Linked DNA regions of Homo sapiens: all the other regions are linked to region 1. Evidence: promoter capture Hi-C in 16 types of primary human blood cells and fetal thymus (Javierre and others, 2016). All regions are on one chromosome and are shown on one strand. The core of a region is centred on a gene start or on the middle of the fragment in contact, and the rest is flanking DNA. Distances in the headings are between cores, read along the strand shown. Region 1 holds the start of CD79B (CD79b molecule). Region 2 overlaps TEX2 (testis expressed 2). Region 3 has its middle 3.0 kb from the start of SNHG25. Region 4 overlaps ERN1 (endoplasmic reticulum to nucleus signaling 1). Region 5 overlaps ERN1 (endoplasmic reticulum to nucleus signaling 1).

The links. The method cuts DNA at HindIII sites, captures the fragments that hold promoters and counts their contacts. A CHiCAGO score of 5 or more calls a contact.
Region 2: a contact is called between a fragment that was not itself captured here and the fragment with the promoter of CD79B in region 1, in 3 of 17 cell types (total CD4 T cells, non-activated CD4 T cells and naive CD8 T cells). The highest score is 5.9, in total CD4 T cells.
Region 3: a fragment that was not itself captured here is called in contact with the fragment with the promoter of CD79B in region 1 in 7 of 17 cell types (total CD4 T cells, non-activated CD4 T cells, total CD8 T cells and 4 more); the score reaches 10.4 in total CD4 T cells.
Region 4: a contact is called between a fragment that was not itself captured here and the fragment with the promoter of CD79B in region 1, in 1 of 17 cell types (total CD4 T cells). The highest score is 5.1, in total CD4 T cells.
Region 5: a contact is called between a fragment that was not itself captured here and the fragment with the promoter of CD79B in region 1, in 6 of 17 cell types (total CD8 T cells, total CD4 T cells, naive CD4 T cells and 3 more). The highest score is 7.4, in total CD8 T cells.

The regions. Positions count from the first base shown.
Region 1 is chr17:63,930,000-63,934,101 of GRCh38, forward strand. CD79B (CD79b molecule) reads right to left here and starts at 2,332. Exons shown (of 6, transcript NM_000626.4): 1 at 2,196-2,332; 2 at 1,336-1,386; 3 at 75-386. The coding sequence starts at 2,262. RefSeq lists a silencer at 1,182-1,251 and enhancers at 1,949-2,338, 2,312-2,982, 2,839-2,948, 2,959-3,008, 3,582-4,102 and 2 more. The HindIII fragment of the contact is 15,563 bases long and covers 1-4,102 here.
Region 2 is chr17:64,162,017-64,166,118 of GRCh38, forward strand. All of the region lies in intron 7 of TEX2 (testis expressed 2), which reads right to left. Among named protein-coding and RNA genes, the nearest start is that of SNORA50C, 18 kb to the left of the region's middle. The HindIII fragment of the contact is 7,291 bases long and covers 1-4,102 here.
Region 3 is chr17:64,140,937-64,145,038 of GRCh38, forward strand. No RefSeq gene overlaps it. Among named protein-coding and RNA genes, the nearest start is that of SNHG25, 3.0 kb to the right of the region's middle. The HindIII fragment of the contact is 2,002 bases long and covers 1,301-3,302 here.
Region 4 is chr17:64,096,564-64,100,665 of GRCh38, forward strand. It overlaps ERN1 (endoplasmic reticulum to nucleus signaling 1), which reads right to left. Exons shown (of 22, transcript NM_001433.5): 2 at 1,558-1,678. Among named protein-coding and RNA genes, the nearest start is that of ERN1, 32 kb to the right of the region's middle. The HindIII fragment of the contact is 5,385 bases long and covers 1-4,102 here.
Region 5 is chr17:64,074,511-64,078,612 of GRCh38, forward strand. It overlaps ERN1 (endoplasmic reticulum to nucleus signaling 1), which reads right to left. Exons shown (of 22, transcript NM_001433.5): 5 at 665-737. Among named protein-coding and RNA genes, the nearest start is that of ERN1, 54 kb to the right of the region's middle. RefSeq lists an enhancer at 176-255 and a silencer at 439-733. The HindIII fragment of the contact is 755 bases long and covers 2,017-2,771 here.

The DNA of each region.
Region 1 (4,102 bases), core at 1,082-3,581:
CATCACCACAAGAGGCAGGCCGGGCTAGGGTGGGGCGGACAGCTACAGGAGCGTCCCAGCCACCTGGCACACACCCATGACTCGCAGCTCTGTGCCGCAGCCCTGGTAGACCTCCGAGGTGTTGTTGCACTTCTGCTGACAGAAGTAGATGCCATTGTCCTCAAACCGGATGCCTTGGATGGTGAGGGTGGCGAGAGATTCGTTCTGGGACTCTTCCATGCGGCCCTTTTCCAGCTTCAGCTGCTGGGGATTCTCGTCCATCTCCTGCTTCCAGAGCCAGCTCACATTGCCGGAGGCGCTGTTCATGTAGCAGTGCATTTTCACCGTGAAGCCCCGTTTCCTGGCTATGAAACGTGGGCTCTGCCAGATCCGCGAACAAGCACTACCTGTGGGTGCCAAGGCCAGGCTCAGCATTCCGCTTGGCATCTTCCTGAGTGCCAGCCCCAGCAGCAGGCCCCTGCCCTGGCTGGCACAGACTCCCTGGGCTTAGTCCTTGCTTCTCAGGGTGTGGGACAGGCAGGAGGCTGAGGTTGGAGTTGGGAAGCAGAGCCACGTGAGAGGCTGAGCCACATGAGAAGCCACGGCCAAGCTCTCAGACTCCACCTCTTCCCGACTGCCCCACCTCCCCTTCGATTTTCCTTTGGAAGAGCCCTGGGACCTTGCCATTCCTTCCTATGCCCATTACAACAGCCTGACCCAGGCCACACCCCCAGGACCTGGAGGCCCACAGGCCTGGCCCCTCCTTTCACTGGGCTGCCCTGCACAGGCTTGAAATCCTCAGTCTCCCCCGTTCCTCCAGGGATAAAGGCCAAATTCCTAGTCTGTCAACTGAGACCTTCCTCAGTCGACCCCCTCCCTGCATGACTTCCCTCTATCATCCCCCTCTTCCCTCCTGCAGGGACTGGGTCCACTTCTTGTTCCAGAACCCTCTTTCCAGCTTCGACTGCCTTGTTCTTAGTGAGCACTGCCCGGGAATCCCTGAGCCCCTCACATAGTGACCCTGCACTGGAGGGCTCACCCGAGACTCAGCCAGATTCCCAGCTAGACAGGCCCGGGCCTGAGTCCTAGAGGAACCCCCAGGCTCCCTTGCTATGACCCAGAGTTTAGCCCAGCCCTTCAGTGGCCAAGGCTGGAGGGCATGTGTCTGATGAGGATGACAGTGGGCTGGGGGTGGGGCTCAGAGGAGATCCTAAGGAGGCCTGGGGATGGGAATCCTGGATGGGGAGATCAGGCAAGGGTGGGAAGGCGGACCGCCCCCAGGACAGGGACCATAGTCGGACACAGGACATAGTCGCACACAACTTGCCCTCAGAAGCGGCAGGCGAGGCTACTGACCTTTGGGATTCCGGTACCGGTCCTCCGATCTGGCTGCTGGTACTGGCTCAGCTGCTGGGTGGGAGGAAGTGGGCGGGGCCAGTCAGGGCCTCCTCTGGCCTGGGCTGCCCCACCCCTGCATGCCCTCTATGTTCCCGGAGCTACTTCCTCCTTCCATGACAGCAGCTTCAAGACCCCTCGGTCCTCCCTGCCCCCAGTACTTGGGAGACAGATATGGGGTGGGGGTACCGGAAGCCCTGCCCCCAGCCCCCTTTCTGCCTTTGACCCTCATGGTGGCTTTGAGCAGGCATCTGAATGAGACAGGAGGGACAGGGAAATCTCAGTATTTTGAGAGGCCAAGACAGGAGGATCGCTTGGGTCCAGGAGTTTGAGACCAGCCTGGGCAACATAGGGACACCCTGTCTCTCTTTTTTTTTTTTTTTTTAAAGAGAGACAGGAAGAAAGTCACAGCCCGGAGGATCTTTCACCTCCCAGAGGAGGGGACCACATTTGGATCTTGCATCTTCCAGGGTCCGGTTGGGACAGCCTCTCCCCTCCCGACCCCCAGGCACCGCCCTCAGCCTCTCTTCCTCCTGAGCCTAGTTCTTCCACGGTCCTGGTTGCTAACTCTGGTTTGCTCCTCATGCCCAGCTCAGCCTGATGCTCTCCAGGCAGGAGAGGAACTGGGGCCACAGGCTCCTGAGCCCATCACCACGTGCAGCTGACACCCACAGACCCAGGCCCCAGGGCCATGAGAGGGAGACAGGCGGTAAAGAGTGAGAGACAGAGGAGGAGGGTGGAGCAAGCAGGAGGCAGAGCCGCAGGGCCCAGACAGCTGGAGATGAGAGCAAACCCCACAGGCCTCGTCGTGGGTTCTGTACCTGAGAGCAGCAGCAGCAACGCCACCATCCAGTGGCTGGGCACAGGAGACAACGCCAGCCTGGCCATGGTCACCGCTCTGTCCCCGACCCCAAACCCGTGACAACGTCCGAGGCTCCTTGGAGGAAAACGTGTAACTGCACCGGCTGCAGCCTGTCCCCTCCCCGCCTCTTCCTCACCAGGCCCCTTCCTGCCATGCAAATTGGGACCCAGGGGAGGCACCAGCTCTCCGGGGACCCTGGGGGAGGGCAGGCTTTTGTCAGCTGGGCCGCTAAGGTTTGGCGGTCGCCCAGCTTGGGCAGCACAGCTGGGGTCCTCTGTGGATGCCTCTGGGGGGCCTCTCAGTCTTCTGGGGGAAGCCTGTGCTCCCCTCTGTCTGTGCTTACCCCACCGGTGGTCATCCCCTGGGCCAGCCAGCCTCCCCTCTGCCGTCTGCCAACTCCCCGAAGGGCCGAGCCCGGCAAGTCTCTATTCCTGGGCCGTGAGCGAAATAGGCACCTGTCCTATGAATGAACCTGAACTTAGCTCCTCTGTCCTGAACTATTCCTCACCCAGCGGGAAGAGGAGCACTGAAGAAGGACAGGGCAGCCACAGACCCAGGTCAGGCATCTGGAGGGGCCCAGAGCAGAGCCTCTTGGCTGGAGTGCAGGCAGCCATGTTGGAAGTTGACCCTGTGGAGGATGGGAGCCACAGAGGTTCTGGAGCAAGAGCAGGTCAAGTGTGGCAGCCACTGGGAGAAGATTCAGTCCAGGTCTTGGTGAGAGGCCTCCCTTCCTCATGCTGTGAAAGAGTATGTAGGGGCTGCCAAACAGGGTGGATGTAGGTGGAGACAGCTTTGCGAAAATCCACCACGCAGCCACTGGGGGCTTCTTCAGGGAGTTCTTAACTGTGGGACTCTGAGTGCGTTGAATTGTTGTCTGCAGGTCCAGGGGGTCTTGGGCAGGGAACAGGAGCTGGTGTGGGGGAGCCCTCAGGTCCTCCAGCTGTATCCTGCCTGTCCTCAGAGTGCTGGATGGAGCCACAGTGCTCAGGAACTGATATAAACTCACCTTTGCGCCCCTGCCCCTGGGTCCAATGCAGCCCCTTCAGAGATGCCCTTGTGCAGGGCACAACATGCACAAGTGTACACAGCATGCTTGCAGACCTCAGCCCTGCAGCTGAGCCCTCTGAATTTTATGTTTCCTGGCAGCTTCTTTTTTGTCTCTCATCCTCGACCCCCAGGAGAGGAAGAGATGCTAAATCGTCGGTGCCCTCTGTCCACCTCTCACTCTCCTCACAACCCTCCGTTTTCCAGTCTGTGCTGGGGCAGGTCTGTCTGGATTTAGGGAGAAGCAGAACCACCTCCCATGCCATGGTTGGAAGGCAGAGGGTCTGGGTGGTCCCTCTTTAGATCTTGGCCTAGGCCTCGGACCTGATAAGGTGGGGGCCACTCTCAAGGGGTGCAGGCCAGGACCTGAGCCACGGAAGTCAGGGGCAGGAGGGTTAAGGTTTCATCCGAGGAACAGCCCGTTCCGGGCAGCCCCAGATGTTCTTTCTTGTTTCCAGATGTTCCAAATGAAAAAACATTTCTCTGAAAAGCTGTCAGATGTTCAGTTCATGGAATAAACAGCTCAGAAATATAAACATCACCTGAGGTCAGCTTGAGGCCCATGGGCCCGCATGCTGGTGAGGGTGGCTGGAGAGAGACTGACCCGGGGGGAGTGGGGCAAAATCTGGGAGTCTCATGGTTTAGGAAATACTCTTCCTGAGCCCCTAACGACAGAGTCCTTCATTAACTTTGGGGCTAGTGTCTCCCCAAAGTTGGGGGGTATAACTGGGAAAGGCTTGGGGCACACGTGTTTGTGGGGGGTGTGTGTGTGTGTGTATGTGCATGCTCACACAGGTGTGTTGCCTGGACCCTGTGGTGTGG
Region 2 (4,102 bases), core at 589-3,088, 230 kb after region 1:
TGGTGTCATTCCTCACTAAAGGCAGGATGATTTCCATTTTGTTTTCAACAAATTCTTTTTACCATAATGGAAGGTAATTATTTTCCATGAATGACCTGGTTTAATTAAGTGATATGGAGATCAATTGTGATTATCTTCTTTGCAGCAATACTCACAAAACTGTTGTATTTCTTGTTTACATTAAGCAGTTAGAAAGAATTAATTAGCTTGCTCTTCAAAGGTACTATTACTGGAAATAAAGGGTATATCTGCTTTAATAAAGACATTTAGTTTTTAATCACTTCAGGAGAAAGGGGATTAGAGCAAAAGGCTAATATTAATAGATTTAAACTCAATGTAAAAGAACAACAATAAAGGAGATATTTATTGTTGTATAGTATTTCCAGCTTTGAAAATTAATATTCAAACTACCTAGTTACTATATACATCCAAACATAATCGTTTCTTTTGAAAATTCTAGTCAAGTTTCTAATAAATATTAATAGTATGCGTTGCCTTTGAAAATGGACATATTAAAGGCACCAGAATTATACTTCTTACAAAATGGAAAGTTTTGCTAGTCTGTTTTTTAAATGAAGATATATGGATTTAGGCTTAGTAAACTGCTGGCTCATGCCCAGTCACGGGGACATTCTACCAAATGATGTGTGGTCCAGCGTCCCTGCCAGGAGCTGGGAGGTGGAGGAAGGCCCAGGGAAGAGCAAGGAGCCCAGTCACATAGATTGGGGCTTGTGTTTCACTGGAAGTTTCTTCACTTCTGTGCCATCAGTACCTTTGTCTGCACCAAGGAGACCTATACTGCCTCTTTCAGGGAGAGCTGTGTACACCCTGGCACCTGGCACAGTCTGACCAGGCAGCCTCCCTTTTTCTGCATTCACCAGCCCACCCTTACTTCTTGCTCTGTCTCCCTTGCTGCTGTTGCCAGGGAAGAGGCTGTACTGGTCAGCCATGGAGCCTGATATCTGAGGATGAGGCTTGGGCATCTGACTGAGCCTCTGCCTGGGTGAGGGGTCTGTTTTAAACACTGAATATACCTCATGAGACCCACTCACAGGGCCCTGCTCAGCCCTGGCACTCATAAAAATATGAAAGAGTCAAGAATGCTTTAAGAACTTTTTTCTTCCCTGAGATGGGGTCTCACTCTCACCCAGGCTGGAGTGCCACCTGGTACGATCTTGGCTGACTGCAACCTCCGCCTCCCAGGCTCAAGTGATCCTCCCACCACAGCCTCCTGAGTAGCTGGGACCACAGGGGTCCGCCACCATGCCCGGCTAACATATATATATATTTTATTTTTGGTAGAGATGGGGTTTTGCCATATTGCCCAGGGTGATTTCAAACTCCTGAGCTCAAGTGATCCACCTGCCTTGGCCTCCCAAAGTGCTGGGATTACTTTGGGAGGTGTGAGCCACTGCACCTGGCCTGGAATGGTTTAAGAACTTTTAAAAGCAGACATGAATGGTAAATAAATATTCCAACAAATGACTCTAATATGATGTGCTTGCATTCAGATGAGGGTAAGAAGACTATTTTAGCATTAAGTGTAGGAGAAATTTGCTTTTGTAACAATGATTCAGCAGGCAGAACGTGACCTGAAAACCTGGGGACACGGGCAACTCCCAAAACTTGGAGCAAAGACCAACCGGTTACGTGACAGGTGAGTCAGGAGGCCCCTGCCTTGCAAGACTGAAAGATGAAATTCACAGTTACTAGAAAGGTTGTCTTCCCCTTGGGGACTAACATAGCAACAATGAGCACACGGGGACATACACTGCCCCATGAGCACCATCTTCCACTGTAACCCAGCTAAATGCTACTTAATCTAGAGGAATGCGGTTACAGGGCCCTTTCTTTTGTAGTCTTGACAAATGGTTAAGACTTAGCTGTAGGCATTTCACTGAAAATACTTTCTATAACCATGTGCCCTGGCTGGTGCTCAAGAACAAAACCAGAAATTGAGGAGTGGGATAATCTTTGATGCCTTTAAATAGGAGTAAGCAGGCAGTCCTGAGAGGTTCTCTGGGAAAGGGGGCTGGAGGCACGCATACGAAGGGTCTATTCCACATCATGTTGAGAGGTTGTCCAGTGGTAACCAGTGGCACCCGATTATTAACGAGCCCCTATAAAACTGGCACTTCAGGCTGGGCACAGTGTCTCACGCCTGTAATCCCAGCACTTTGGGAGGCTGAGGCAGGCGGATCACTTGAGGCCAGGAGTTCAAGACCAGCCTGGCCATCATGGTGAAACCTCGTCTCTACTAAAAATACACAAATTAGCTAGGCATGGTGGTGCGCACCTGTAGTCCCAGCTGCTAGGTACGCTGAGGCACGAGAATGGCTTGAGCCTGGGGGGCAGAGGTTGCAGTGAGCCGCGATCGCCCTACTGCACTCTAGCCTCTGTCTCAAAAGAAGAAGAAGAAAAAAAAAAAAAACCCTGGCACTTCATGCAGCAACACGAGTGACAATGTAGTAAGACTTAGTCTGTGTACAAGGACCTGGAAGGAGCTCAGATGCTGTTTTTCCACTCTTCAGTTTCACAGCGGCAGGATCAATTACCACTACCACCACTACACAGAGACACTGTGGCAAAAATTACAGCTTATTCCACCAAAAAGCGTGTATGCGTTCTTAATGTACAATATCAGAGCCAAAAGCACTGAGATGAACCCCTGCCCTCAGGAAGTGTATGTTTGAAGAAAAATAAAAGTGGCCTAGGCCAGCTGCTGCAGCTCAGACCATGATGCCAGTTGGTATCATAAAATGCCTTGGCGTATGTCCCCACAGATAAGGGGTGGCCACAACCACAAGAGGCTCTTCTGCCTTCGGCCTGGTTTTCCAGTTAACAGACCCCATGGCCTCAGTCCTCCCGTGGCCATGTGAATCTAATAATCTCACACAGCAGTTCACTGTTTTATTACTATTTAGGCATCTGTCTCACTGGAGTAGGCTTGAGAGGGCACCTGCTGCTTGGGAGTAGTTAAGGGAACCAAAACCCTGCACACCTGAACTTGGTCCTCACGTTATTTTCTCCTCCATTTCCTTCTACCTGTAACTATTAACAGCTGATTTCACTCTGAAAGTCAATATTTGGCATCCAAAGAACAAAACTTCTTAAAATGGAACATTTGATAACATTATCAAGAACAGATGTTGGAGTTATTCAGCTCTGGGAAGAACACACCAGTGACTGTTGTGCTCCTGGCAAAGAGACTGGTGCCATATTGCTCATTCAGATACTACAGAAAATTAGCAATTCCTTGTGTGTGGATGTGTCTTTGATGATAGACATCATTTTTAGCCTTATCTACCTGTAACTGTCCTCTGAAATAGAGCTCCACCCCTTCAAGGTTGACAAGCTGCAAATCAGGGTCCCCTGTCCCCCACCCGACCCATGTTCCACAAGAGGTATGATTTCCCCTTCCCACACTAAGCCCTTTCCACACTAAGTGTTTTTCTTCCCGTAGCACAGTCTGGTCAGAGCCACTCCTATCAGCCCCACGTGCTAGAGTATGGCCCTGCCTTGGTGCTCAGGCCCAGGCAGCCCCAGTGGCTGTAGCTGCCCTCTGATGTCACTCTTGAAGCACGTGTGGCAGGAGGAGTGGGCAAGTCATGACTGACTCTGGCTCCAGTTTTCTGTCATTACTCAGGTGGCAAAGTAGCATCACTCCCAACACTGGATGTGAAGGCACCAGGCACACAGGTAGTGGATCCTGGTAGGATCCAGTCTGGAACACTGGATGTGAAGGCACCAGGCACGTGGGTTAAGGTCTGGAATATCAGTCCAGATGACTAAGGGCAGCTCTGGAGACAGACAAGGTTTCTATTTCTGTGGGACATGGTAATATTTCCATAGAATCTGAGACATTCAGTCTAAATTTGGGCTGTTATTTGGTATCTTGAAAACAAGGCAAAACCCAGTCGGGTCCTCTGTCTGTGTGGACACTCAGTGGCTATTTGCAGTTTTAAATTCATGTTGCAAACATCCCGAAGACTAAATGAATTCATCTAAGCCTGAGGGGTTGTGGTCTGCATCCTTGGATCATTCTGACGCTGCTGACACACCTGTGGGCACCTGTTCTGAAACCGCTGGACTCAGGCACAGA
Region 3 (4,102 bases), core at 1,052-3,551, 210 kb after region 1:
AGGTGATGGGGGTTAAGGTTACAACATTTTTTTTTTTTTTGACACAGAGTCTCTGTCACCTAGGCTTGAGTGCAGTGGCACGATCATGGCTCACTGCAGCCTCCAACTCCTGGGTTCAAGCCATCCTCCTGCCTTAGCCTCCTGAGTAGCTGGGACTACAGGCACAAATCACTGTGGCTGGCTAACTTTTTAAATTTTTTTGTAGAGATGGGGGTCTTGCTTGTTGCCCAGGCTGGTCTTGAAATCCTAGCCTCAAGCAATTCTCCTGCCTCAGCTTCCCAAAGTGCTGAGATTACAAGCATGAGCCACCATGCCTGGCCAGCTTCAGCATTTCCTTTTGGAGGATACAACCCATAACACTACCTAATAGGTGTCAGGGCATCCCTCCTAGTTGTGAAAAACAAAAATGTCTCCAGATATTGCCAAATGTTCCCTGGATGGCAAAATCGCCACCCTCCCATTGAGATTTGAATAACACTATCAACTACCTTGATCTCCTTTACACTTATAAAACATTATACCCAACAACAAAAGAATACACATTCTGGAAACACTTATTCTATTTTATGGAATGAAGTGTTGCCAATTTAAAAAAAAAAAAAAGGAGGGTAGCATGGTGGCGCACACCTGTAATCCCAGCACTTTGGAAGGCAGAGGGGGAAGGACTGCCTGAGACTGTGAGTTCAAGACCAGTGTGGCCAACATAATGAGACTCTGTCTCTAAAATAAAATTTAAAAACTTAGCGGGGCATGGTAGTGCACTCCTGTAGTCCCAGCTACTTAGGAGGCTGAGGCCCAGGGATCTCTTGAGTTCAGGAGGGTGAGGCTGCAGTGACCCATGATTGCACCACTGCATTCCACTCCAGCCTGGGTGACAGAGTGAGACCATGTCTCAAAAATAAAATAAAAACACATAAATAAATAAATAAATATTTAAAAATATAGGCCAGGTGCAGTGGCTTATGCCTGTAATCCCAGCACTTTGGGAGTCCGATGTGGGTGGACCACTTGAGGTCAGGAGTTCAAGACCAGCTTGGCCAACATGGTGAAACCCTGTCTTTACTAAAAATACAAAAAAAAAAAAATTAGCTGGGCATGGTGGCATGTGCCTGTAATCACCATATTGGCCAGGCTTGTCTCGAACTCCTGAACTTGTGGTCCGCCCACCTCAGCCTCCCAAAGTGCTGGGATGACAGGCGTGAGCCACCATTCCCGGTCACTATTTGGAAATTAACATCATTCTTCTAAATAACCCATGGGCCTTTTCTGCCTCAACTGCTTCCAGGGCACCTGTGGAAAAAGCTTGTGATGAGGTGGGGCAAAAAATAGAAGCCAGTTCTCAAGTTCACCTTTGATTGTACCCACCCTACAGAAGATGGAATCAATTTACAAAAATTTACCAAATTACAAAAATTTATTAAAATGATTTTAGTAAAATTAGATTTAAATTAATAGAAATTGCATTTCTATATACCAGCAATGAACTCTTGGAAATTGAAATTTAAAAATAGTATCTCTCATGTTAGAGGCTTGACTAAAAAAAAAAGAATAAATATAGTATCATTCATAATAGCATTATAAATGAAATCCTGAGGGATAAATTTCACAAAATATATGCAAGATTGTACAATGAAAACTATGACATTGCTGAGGGAAATGAATAAGACTTAAATGAAGAAATATACTGTATTCATGGGATGAAAGACTGAGTGTTGTTAAGATGTCAATTATTCCCAAATTGATCTACAGATTCAATATAATTTCAGGCAAAATTCCTACTGGTCTTCTGTAGAAATTGACAAGCTGATTCTAAAATGTTTCTGGAAATACAAACAACCTAAAATAGTCAAAATAATTTTGAAAGAGGACAAAGTTACAGATCTTGTATATCTGATTTTAAGATGTACTATAAAGCAATGGTAATAAAGGGTAGATAAATAACAGTGCAAAAGAAGATACTGCTTAGAAACAAACCAACTCATATATGGTCAATTTTTTTTTTTTTTACAAACATGACAAGGTACTTTAAGTGAAAGGATATCCTCTTCAACAAATGGTGCTGGAACAAGTGAATATCCATATACAAACAAATGAACCTAACTCTTGTCTCACACTAGACACAAAAATTAACTTGAAAAAGATAATAGACCTGAATGCGAGAGCAAACACTATAAAACTTCTCGAAGAGCGGGCGCAGTGGCTCACGCCTGTAATCTCAAGAAATTTGGGAGGTCAAGGTGGGCGGAACACGAGGTCAAGACATTGAGATCATCCTGGCCAACATGGTGAAACCCCATCTCTACTAAAAATACAAAAATTAGCCAGGCATGGTGGCGTGCGCCTGTAATCCCAGCTACTCGGGAGGCTGGGGCAAGAGAATCACTTGAACCTGGGAGACAGAGGTTGTAGTGAGCTGAGATCGCACCACTGCACTCCAGCCTGGTGACAGAGCGAGACTTCGTCTCAATAAATTAATTAATTAATTAAATTAAATTAAATTAAACTTCTAGAAGAAACCATATAAAAGAAAAATCTGTATTAGGCCAAGATTTCTTAGATATGAAACCAGAAGTACTGTCTATTAAAAAATTGATAAATTAGATTTTCATCAAAATTAAAAATGTCTCCTCTTTGAAAGACACTGTCAAGAAAATAAAAAAGCAGGCCAGGCACGGTGGCTCATGCCTGTAATCCCAGCACTTTGGGAGGCTGAGGCGGGTGGATCACTTGAGGTCAGGAGTTCAAGACCAGCCTGGCCAACATGGTGAAACCCCGTCTCTACTAAAAATACAAAAATTAGCCGGGCATGGTGGTCCGTGCCTGTAGTCCCAGCACTAGGGAGGCTGAGGCAGCAGAGTCGCTTGAACCCGGGTGGCAGAGGTTGCAGTGAGCCAAGATAGTGCCACTGTACTCCAGCCTGGGCGACAGAGCCAGACTCTGTCTCAAAAAAGAAAAGAAAAGAAAAGAGAAGAGGAGAAGAAAAGAAAAGAGCAGGCCGGGCGCGGCGGCTCACGCCTGTAATCCCAGCACTTTGGGACGCTGAGGCGGGAGGATCATGAGGTCAGGAGTTTGAGACCAGCCTGGCCAATATGGTAAAACCCCATCTCTACTAAAAATACAAAAATTAGCCAGGCATGGTTGTGCATGCCTGTAATTCCAGCTACTGGGGAGGCTGACGCAGGAGAATTGCTTGAAGTCGGGAGGCGGAGGTTGCAGTAAGCCAAGATTGTGCCACCGCACTCCAGCCTGGGCAACAGAGTGAGACTGTCTCAAAAAACAAAACGAAACAAGTAATGGAGCAAAGCTTCTGTTGCTCCACATCCTCACTGGCATTTGGTATTTGAGGCATAATCTTAACACATCACAATCAAAGCCAACAGCCAACTTCCAAGCAAGTACATAATACACAAAGCAGAGCTGTGGACAATGTAATTACAACACAACTAAGGTTGAATTAATAAATAAATATTTTATACCATGTTTGTACTTGATAGTGAAAACATCTTCGTTTCAACAATCTGTGGAACACTTATAAAAACTGATATTTTAGGTCACAAAGAAAACTTTCATACATTGCCCAATGCGGAAACTGTACCATAATGTAATAAATGTTGAGATAACGAAAGTTAAAACAGCAACAAAAATAAATAGAGACTACTAAACACTTGTCAAAGTCATTATTGCTTTGGATTAAAGAGGTTTTTTTTTTTTTTTTTGAGATGGAGTCTCGCTCTGTTGCTCAGGTTAGAGTGTAATGGCGCGATCTCAGCTCATTGCAACCTCCGCCTCCCGGGTTCAAGCGATTCTCCTGCCTCAACCTCCTGAGTAGCTGGGATTACAGGGGCCTGCCACCACGCCCGGCTAATTTTTGTATTTTTAGTAGAGACAGGGTTTCGCCATGTTGGCCAGGCTGTTCTTGAACTCCTGACCTGATCCATCCGCCTCCGTCTCCCAGAGTGCTGGGATTACAGGCGTGAGCCACCGCGCCCGGCCAAAGAGGAATTTTTTGAATTTAAAGTCTATATAGAAAATAAGGAAAATAAGAGCCCATTCAACTACAAACCCATAGGGTGAAATGATTTCACTGTCACATACACACACA
Region 4 (4,102 bases), core at 1,078-3,577, 170 kb after region 1:
GCTCCCCCGGTCCATGGAAAAACTTCCACGAAACTGGTCCCTGATGCAAAAAAGGTTGGGCACTGCTGCTATACAGTATCTCTCACATTCTAGGTTCTCTAAATACACATTCAATTGAGTTAAAAAGAGGCAAATTCTTTCAGCTCTAAGTTAGAAGAGAAAACAGGTTAATTCTTATGTTTGACTAAGTAACGGAGAGGACACAGTTTTGTTGCATACAGATGACATTACTTGCAGAAATGAAGACTTGGAAAAAACCAACTTAAAGCATTATGTGCAGGGAAAAGCAAAGCAGAATGAAGTGGCTCAGGGTGAAGATGCCCTGCCTGGGAACAATGAAACTGAAAGACATGCCCTAACATTCCACAGCCAAAGTGTTTCTCTCAATTCTTGTGTGATTTGTTGATTTTCATCTCTGGACAAAATAGGAAATCCTGAAGTTTGAAGGACTCTGTTTCATTTTAAAAACATTAAAAGGCTTAAATGTGATGGAGATACAGTACAGATGATGTTCTTGGAACCTGTAATAAAACACTCTACAGTCTTCCTGTGGCCACACACTCCTGAGAGAGCTGGTCTTTGGGCTGCTTAAAGTTCCTGCTGATCCAAGCAGGGCCCATGCAGGTGGGGCAGGATGGCTTGTGGTAACCCAGCTGCCATCATCTATGGATGGTAACGAGGTTTGCTGCTGAATTCACAAGACAATGTGTGACCTTCTGACATATGCCAATATTTTTCCATCTAGCATACTGTTTTGGAACACTTTATTAAGGAAGGAAAAACATTGGCTGTGCTCGTGAAAGTAATGAGTCACAGAGTAGTGACGAAAGAGAACGATGCTGTTCAGACCCGAACCTCGGGCCAAATGAGATTTATTACTAGACAGATTAAATAATATAGATGACTCTGAAAGTCCCAAATCCTGGGATTTGCATGGCTTTATCTGGAAAGATTACTTTGGAAATCAAATACAATTTCCCAGCTGTAGGGCTTGACTCTGCTAGTTACCACCAGGAAGATCAGATCATAACATGGACGCATGGTATGTTAAGTAAGAAAGAAGCTCAGTCTTTATTCCCCTCACCATAACAACCCAATAAAGTGGTTAACTTGGATGAATGTCAAATCTTACAGCCCTCTATTATTTCAGCCTCTATAAAAACAAATGAGTAATTTGAGGTGTTGAGAAGATACCTTCTTGTAATTATGATTACAAGATTCTAATCATGAGAACAAATTTAGTGCAGCATGTCTTCATAAAGACCAACTAGCTAGAGCTATTAATAGAAAAGCCTAGAGCCATTTTAACATGAAGTCTAAACAGAAGCAAAAAAGAAGATAAAACGTGCTTCTTTAACTGATGCACTTAGTGGATAACCACAGCAAAGCTATAAACGTCCTTTGAGCAGAATGCCTTTTCCTCTCTTGATCCCATTCTTCTTTATTTCTTATTTATTTTATTAGATAATGAGTAATGTTTTCTCTTTCTCCAGAATATGTTTCTGTGGAACCAGTTAAGCAAATGTCCATGTCGCCCAAGGACCAAATCCAAATTACCTTCTTTTAAAGTCCATTTGATTGAGCCTGTCCTCTTGCTGACAGCATGCAAACTTCCATCCAGCGTTGACACAAACAACAAGGTTTCAGGAAGCGTCACTGTGCTGGTACTTCCAAAAATCTGCAACGAGATGTAGAAGACTCTTAATGTTGATATGATTCTTCACCTTGGGCATGTACAATCACAGACCCCCCACTCCCAAGGTTATCCTACTAAAACCCTCCATTTTACAGATGAAGAAATGGAAGGTGGAGAGCCTAAATTCCCACTCAGTCAGGACTAGAACCCAGGTCACCTCACTCTAAGCAGTGATCCTGCCTGCAGACAGGCAGGCTCATGACCTAACATTACAAGGACAAGAATTCTGAAATAATCCATGGGCAACCTCCACTGAAACAGAGGGGCAAAGTATGCTCAGCTTTCTGACTTCCTTCTCTTGGGCCTATTCTATTCTCTAAAACCTGGGCATCTCATAAGACGTTATGATAAAAAAGAATGCCAATACCCACGCATACACACATTCATGAAATTTTAAAAAGCAAAGAATTAGGGGAAAATGCTTAAAGCAAAATAGGAAAAACAGCTTTCATTATACAAAGAATTTATAAAATAAAACACTAAGATTCCAGTAAAGATATGTTATAAAAGTAAATGAATAAAAAGCATAACCCCAAACTGGTCCTCACTTAGAATAAAAATAAAATTTAAATTAAAATGTACCTTTTTTCTCAACAAACTTAAAACAAAACAAAAAAAATTTTAAAAGAAATAACCAAAGGCTGTGACATTTCCCATCCATTGCTAGTAGCACTGAAAATTACTAGTATCATCTTTCTGGAAAATATAAAAGTGCTCTTAGTTTTTGATCCTGTAATTCCACTTCTATACTCTAAAGAAATAACTCCAGAAATGGAAAAAGTTCTGTGCACAATGATACTCATGACGTCCCATTTATAAACACAAAAACTGGAAAGAACCAAACTTCCAATAATATCTAAATGGCTAAGATAAATAAAGACATATGTTCAGTGAAATAATTATCATTAAAATAACACTTGGAAAAATCTACAATATAGAAAAATGCTTATATACATTATCAATTAAATATAGAATCCAAGATTTGATATCCACTGTGGTTACAATTATACTGGACAGATTTTTTTTTTTGTCTGCCTGTCTTCTGGCTTTGCTAGGAATTGTACCCTCATTCCACAGGGTTTCCATGGGAGCAGGTGTGTGCGCACATGTACACACGGACGCATATGCAGGTGACAGCTGGTAAGGTTTCCTGGATAAGATTTCCCTTTTGAGGTAGGGGTCCCTTCAGCAACCCCACCCTTGTAATGAGATTTTCTCTTCTTTTGTCACATACTATCCTACAAATAGCTTTTTCCCCAGGTCTTCAATTAAAAAAAAAAATGCCAATGCAACTTGCTTATACTGCAACAGTTTGAATTCTGGCACAAATGCTATTTTTGAAATACAGAAGTATGGAGCATTAAATGTAAAAGGATTGGGGTTATTTGTGCATGGGAGCCTGATCCCAGAAGGCCCGGCTACTCTCGGTAAGAGCCAGGATGCCTAGTTAATCCTTCAAAGGGAAGGCCCCACAGGCTCTCTCTGGGGCAGCCTGAGGTGGCAGGACAAATACTCTGGGGTCCCGTATTCCTTTTCTGTGGTGGAGACCCACCAACGGAGGGAGTGAAACAGCTGCTAGAACTTTGCACATCCCACCTCTTCGCTTTGCCCAGGGCCAGGGCCTGGGCCCACTCCCTGGAATGGGAGAAAGGACAGTAAGCTGTGTTGCCACCTACCGAGTCTACTCTGTGCAAAGCCTGAAGTCTGAGGAAGAAGAGTGCTTTTAATTCTACCTCTGGAACTAGGAAATTAATATCAGAGTATAAATCGGCCAGGAAAACATAAGCCTCAAGGGTGGTATCTGCCCTAGCCGGGGATGCAAAGGTCACTGTTTGGGAGTGGTTAGAATTATTTCAGCCCAGAGGGTCCAGATGGTGACAAGCCACCTGAACCACAGGTACCTGGGCCTGGAGAACTGTGGCCCTATGACAAGGCCACTGGGAGTTCATGAGTAAACAGGGGCTAAGTGAATTGGGGCTGTCTGCCACTGAGGAGGGGGAATGGGTGTGCAGCTTGGTGTGGGATGGCTGGATTATGTTAGGTGTGACAGTTTGGAGGATGAATAAATGAAAGGGCAAATTATGCATACCTGGGGCCAAGAAGTGGAAATCCCTGCTGAGCCCTCCTCCACCCCCCAAAGTTACCACAGGAATAACCACTCTGTACAACAGGTCTTGGGAGGCCACACAAGAAAGTGAGTTAAACTCTGGGTGGCTAAAGTGGAAATAAGGCCAGGCGTGGTGGCTCACACCTGTAATCCCAACATTTTGGGAGGCCAAGGCAGGCGGATCACTTGAGGTCAGGAGTTCGAGACCAGCCTGGCCAACATGGTGAAAACCCATCTCTACTAAACACACAAAAATTAGCCAGGCATGGTGGCATGTGCCTGTATTCCCAGCTATTCAG
Region 5 (4,102 bases), core at 1,144-3,643, 140 kb after region 1:
CCCAGAAATACACATAAAGCTCCTCGAGGCATGAATAGGCAATAAGCACTTTCAGTTCCTCAAAAAGAAAGCTGCTGTATAAATACGGGCTATTATTGCTACTATGATTTCAAGATAAATACAGCTCTCCTTTGTGTTGCAAATGCTTTTTTATTGACATTTTGGCAGCAACATAGTAAAAGAAAAGCAGGTGATCTGATGCTTTGAAAGCTGTGACCCCATAGGTATGAAGGCAGTTTATCTAGGCAAGCTATTAAGTGCTGTTCTATCAAACATTCTGATAGCAGGAAATACTAAGAAAGCGCTATAATTAACAGGCAGAGCCTGGCTTTCCTTCCTTGGCTTAGATGATTGTACTCACTTTAAATTTCATCCATTTGCCACTGGGTATGTTGCAATCTTGGAATCTCAGGACTAAGTCAACACAGCAACTAAAAGCTTGTTAAATGAGTAACCATATTAATGATGTCAATTCTTCTCCCAAGTTGGGGGAGCCCTTTCTTAATTGGTCAGCTGATCCTGGGGAGAACAGCACCTGAAGCACAACCCAGGAAAGAAAGGGTTGGCAAGGCGGTGACTGCGCCCTCTCTCTCCGCATGCCACTTTCCCAGATTCCGGGACTTACATCAAAGAGACACAAGTTTCTGGAGACAGGAACTCTTACCCATGTAGAGGATTCCATCTGAACTTCGGCATGGGGATGCCTGCACCAATTCTGGGATGGTAAAAGGAAGTTTCTTTAAAAAAAAAAAAAAAGAAAAAAAAAAGTTAACCAAGTCTTGTGCAATTATTACAATTTTACCAGGCAGTTTGTTTCTATTACCTAATTCTGCTAAAAAGAGAGAAGCACTTTGCAGATGAGAGTTTTCCTAACTGAATACAAAGGAGAAGGGGGCACCCTATGCTTCCACATCTACTGTGTTTTTATTTTCATTTTTTTGAGACAGGGTCTCATTCTGTCGCCCAGGCTGGAGTGCAGTGGCACCATCTTGGCTCACTGCAACCTCTGCCTCCTGGGTTCAAGTGATTCTCTCACCTCAGCCTCCCAAGTAGCTGGGATTACAGGCATGTTGCCACTACACCCAGCTAATTTTCCACATCTATTTTGACAAGCTCCCAGGTCCCTGAGCTCTGTAAACATCCACTCCTTTACTTGACACCATGTGCAGAGGCCCCTCAAGGTCTCCTGTCCAGGGTGCTTCCCAGGGGTGACACAAACCTTTTCTGAAAAGATTTACACAAATATGGAGAGTTATATATTCTTTGAAATGCTAAGAAAGAATTGTCCTGGCTTGGAATACAGAGCCAGAGCTGGCTAGACTGAGTAAAATGACAGTGCTTTGTAGAGCCCCATGGGAGGGAGCCAGGACATTGATGCTGAAGGGATGCAACCTTGGTGCCAAGCTCAAGCTTCGAGGGAAAGGAGAAGTCGCCATTACAGGGGCAACACAAGAGTTTGAGGTGGAAAAGAGTTTTGATGTTTTCTTCAGTAAATAATTCACTATTGAAAAACAAGAAAAATTGAGACTTTTGGTTTTAAAGAGGAAGTTAAGATAGGTGCCAGGAAAAGAAACTCAAAGGAATCCAAATGTTTCAACTGCATTTCATCATAAAACTGATTCTTCTGAGTCTACAGCTGACATCTGACGAGCTCTTTTGGTTAATGCTTGTTTCAGTATACTTTATTTTTAGAACATTCTGTGTTTTTGAAATTGTTCTATAGATACCTGCTTTTATAGAAATGCCTCTACTGCATGGTCACCTTTTTCTCCAAGAAAGAAAAGATTTCTCTCTAGCTTTAATAAGCAGAGCTTTGCATACTAAATAACTTGGATTTTCCCATCATCCCAACATTCAAACCAAGCCTCAGAGGAGGAAAAATGCTTCAGAGAGGCTGCAATGACTGGGTTTTGCCATGTGTTTCTGAGAATCAGAAAGGCACTGCAGATCTTCTAGTCTTCTGGAGTCCTGTGGTCTCTGCTGAGCACTGCCACTGGTGCCCTGATTCAAGGCCCAAGCTTGGGAAACATTGTTTCTGGAGCTGCTAAACCACAACCCAGAAAGGAGCACAAGGGAGTGATGAAGGGCATCCTCTTTTTTTTTTTTTTTGAGACGGAGTCTCACTCTCACCCAGGCTGAAGTGCAGTGGCGTGATCTCGGCTCACTGCAAGCTCCGCCTCCCGGGTTGATGCCATTCTCCTGCCTCAGCCTCCCAAGTAGCTGGGACTACAGGCGCCCGCCACTGCGCCTGGCTAATTTTTTGTATTTTTTAGTAGAGACGGGGTTTCACCGTGTTAGCCAGGATGGTCTCGATCTCCTGACCTTGTGATCCGCCCGCCTCGGCCTCCCAAAGTGCTGGGATTACAGGCCCGGCTGGGCATCCTCTTTAAGAACCAACTCCAACACTAGAAGACTCAGCCCTGGACATATTCCTTCACTTCTCCAGGCTGTTTCCACACCTCTAAAACGGGGATATCACCCACAGGGCTGCTGAGAGATTCCAATGAGATAACTTATACAACTCACTCACCCCAGTTTCTGGCAAACAAATTGCTTAAGAAATGGGGACTACAGAGCTGTGGAGAGAAACCAACGGAGAGCAGTGTTGAAGGTGAAATACACACAGCTCTATACAAACTTGCCCTCCTCCCCTCTGTTTTGGTCACAGGCATTCACAAAATAATTTTAAAACACCCAAGTTAAAGTCCACAATCCACTTACAGCCTAGATCAGTGGTTCTCATCCTTGGTTGCCCATGAGAATTACTTGGAAGCTTTAAAAACTTCCTACTGATGCATAATACGCAAACAGAAAAGCACTCATCATCACACAGCTCAGTCAAGTTTCACAAAGTGAACATACCCACGTAACCGGCATCCAGGTGAAGAAACAGAAGCCCCCCTCCTCTCTTGCCCCCCTTTCTAGCCATAACTCTCCAGGGGTAACTATTATCCTAACTTCAAAACAGCAGAGACTCGTTTTTCCTGTTTTTGGCTTTACATAAGTGAATGGCAGCGTGTGGCCTTTTTTGTCTGTCATGTTTTGCTCAACATCACGCTTGTGAGTCATCCGCGGCGTGTGTCGTCATAGACTGTTGGTCCTCATCACCGTGCATGCCGCTTCCAGAGTTTATTTTTCCACTCCACTGTGGATGTTATTTGGCCACCCTCTGCTTATTATAAATGGTGCTGCTGTACATTTGGGCACATGTCCATTGGTGAACAAAAGTGCATTTCTTCTTTTTTTTTTTTTTGAGATGGAGTCTCGCTCTGTTGCCCAGGCTGGAGTGTAGTGGCGTGATCTCAGCTCACTGCAAGCTCCACCTCCCGGGTTCACGCCATTTTCCTGCCTCAGCCTCCCAAGTAGCTGGGACTATAGGCGCCCGCCACCGCACCTGGCTAATTTTTTGTATTTTTAGTAGAGACGGGGTTTCACCATGGTCTCGATCTCCTGACCTCGTGATCCGCCCACCTTGGCCTCCCAAAGTGCTGGGATTACAGGCATGAGCCACCGCACCCAGCCACAAATGTGCATTTCTGTTGGGTCTGTAACCTAGGAGGGCATTACTGGGTCCTAAGGACTTTAGCACTTACTGCCAACAGTTTTCCAAATCACTTGTGCCACCCTGCACTTCCGCCAGCAGTAGGTGAGAGTCCTGGTTGCTCCACATCACCAACATGTTTTCTTTTTCTACTTTCCTTGTTTTGGCCATTCTGGTGAGTAGCAGTATGGCACTGTGGCTTTAATTTGCATTTCCAAATGACTAATAAAATGGAACATCTTTTCATATGTTTATGACCATTTGGATATTCTCTTCTGTTATTCTTCCATTGGGCTGTCTTTTTTTAACGTACCATAGGATTTCTTCATATATTCTGAATATGAACTTTTGTTGGATGTGTATACTACAAATACTTTGTGGCCTCTTAATGAGGAAAAGTTCTTAATTTTAATATAATCAATATATTGATTTTTTCCTAAATTTATAGTGTTCTTTAATATCCTACTTAATAAATCTCTACTTACTCTAAGATCATGAAGATGGTTCCATTACTTTTTTTCTTAAAGCTTTATTATTTTGCATTTCACATTTAGATGTGTG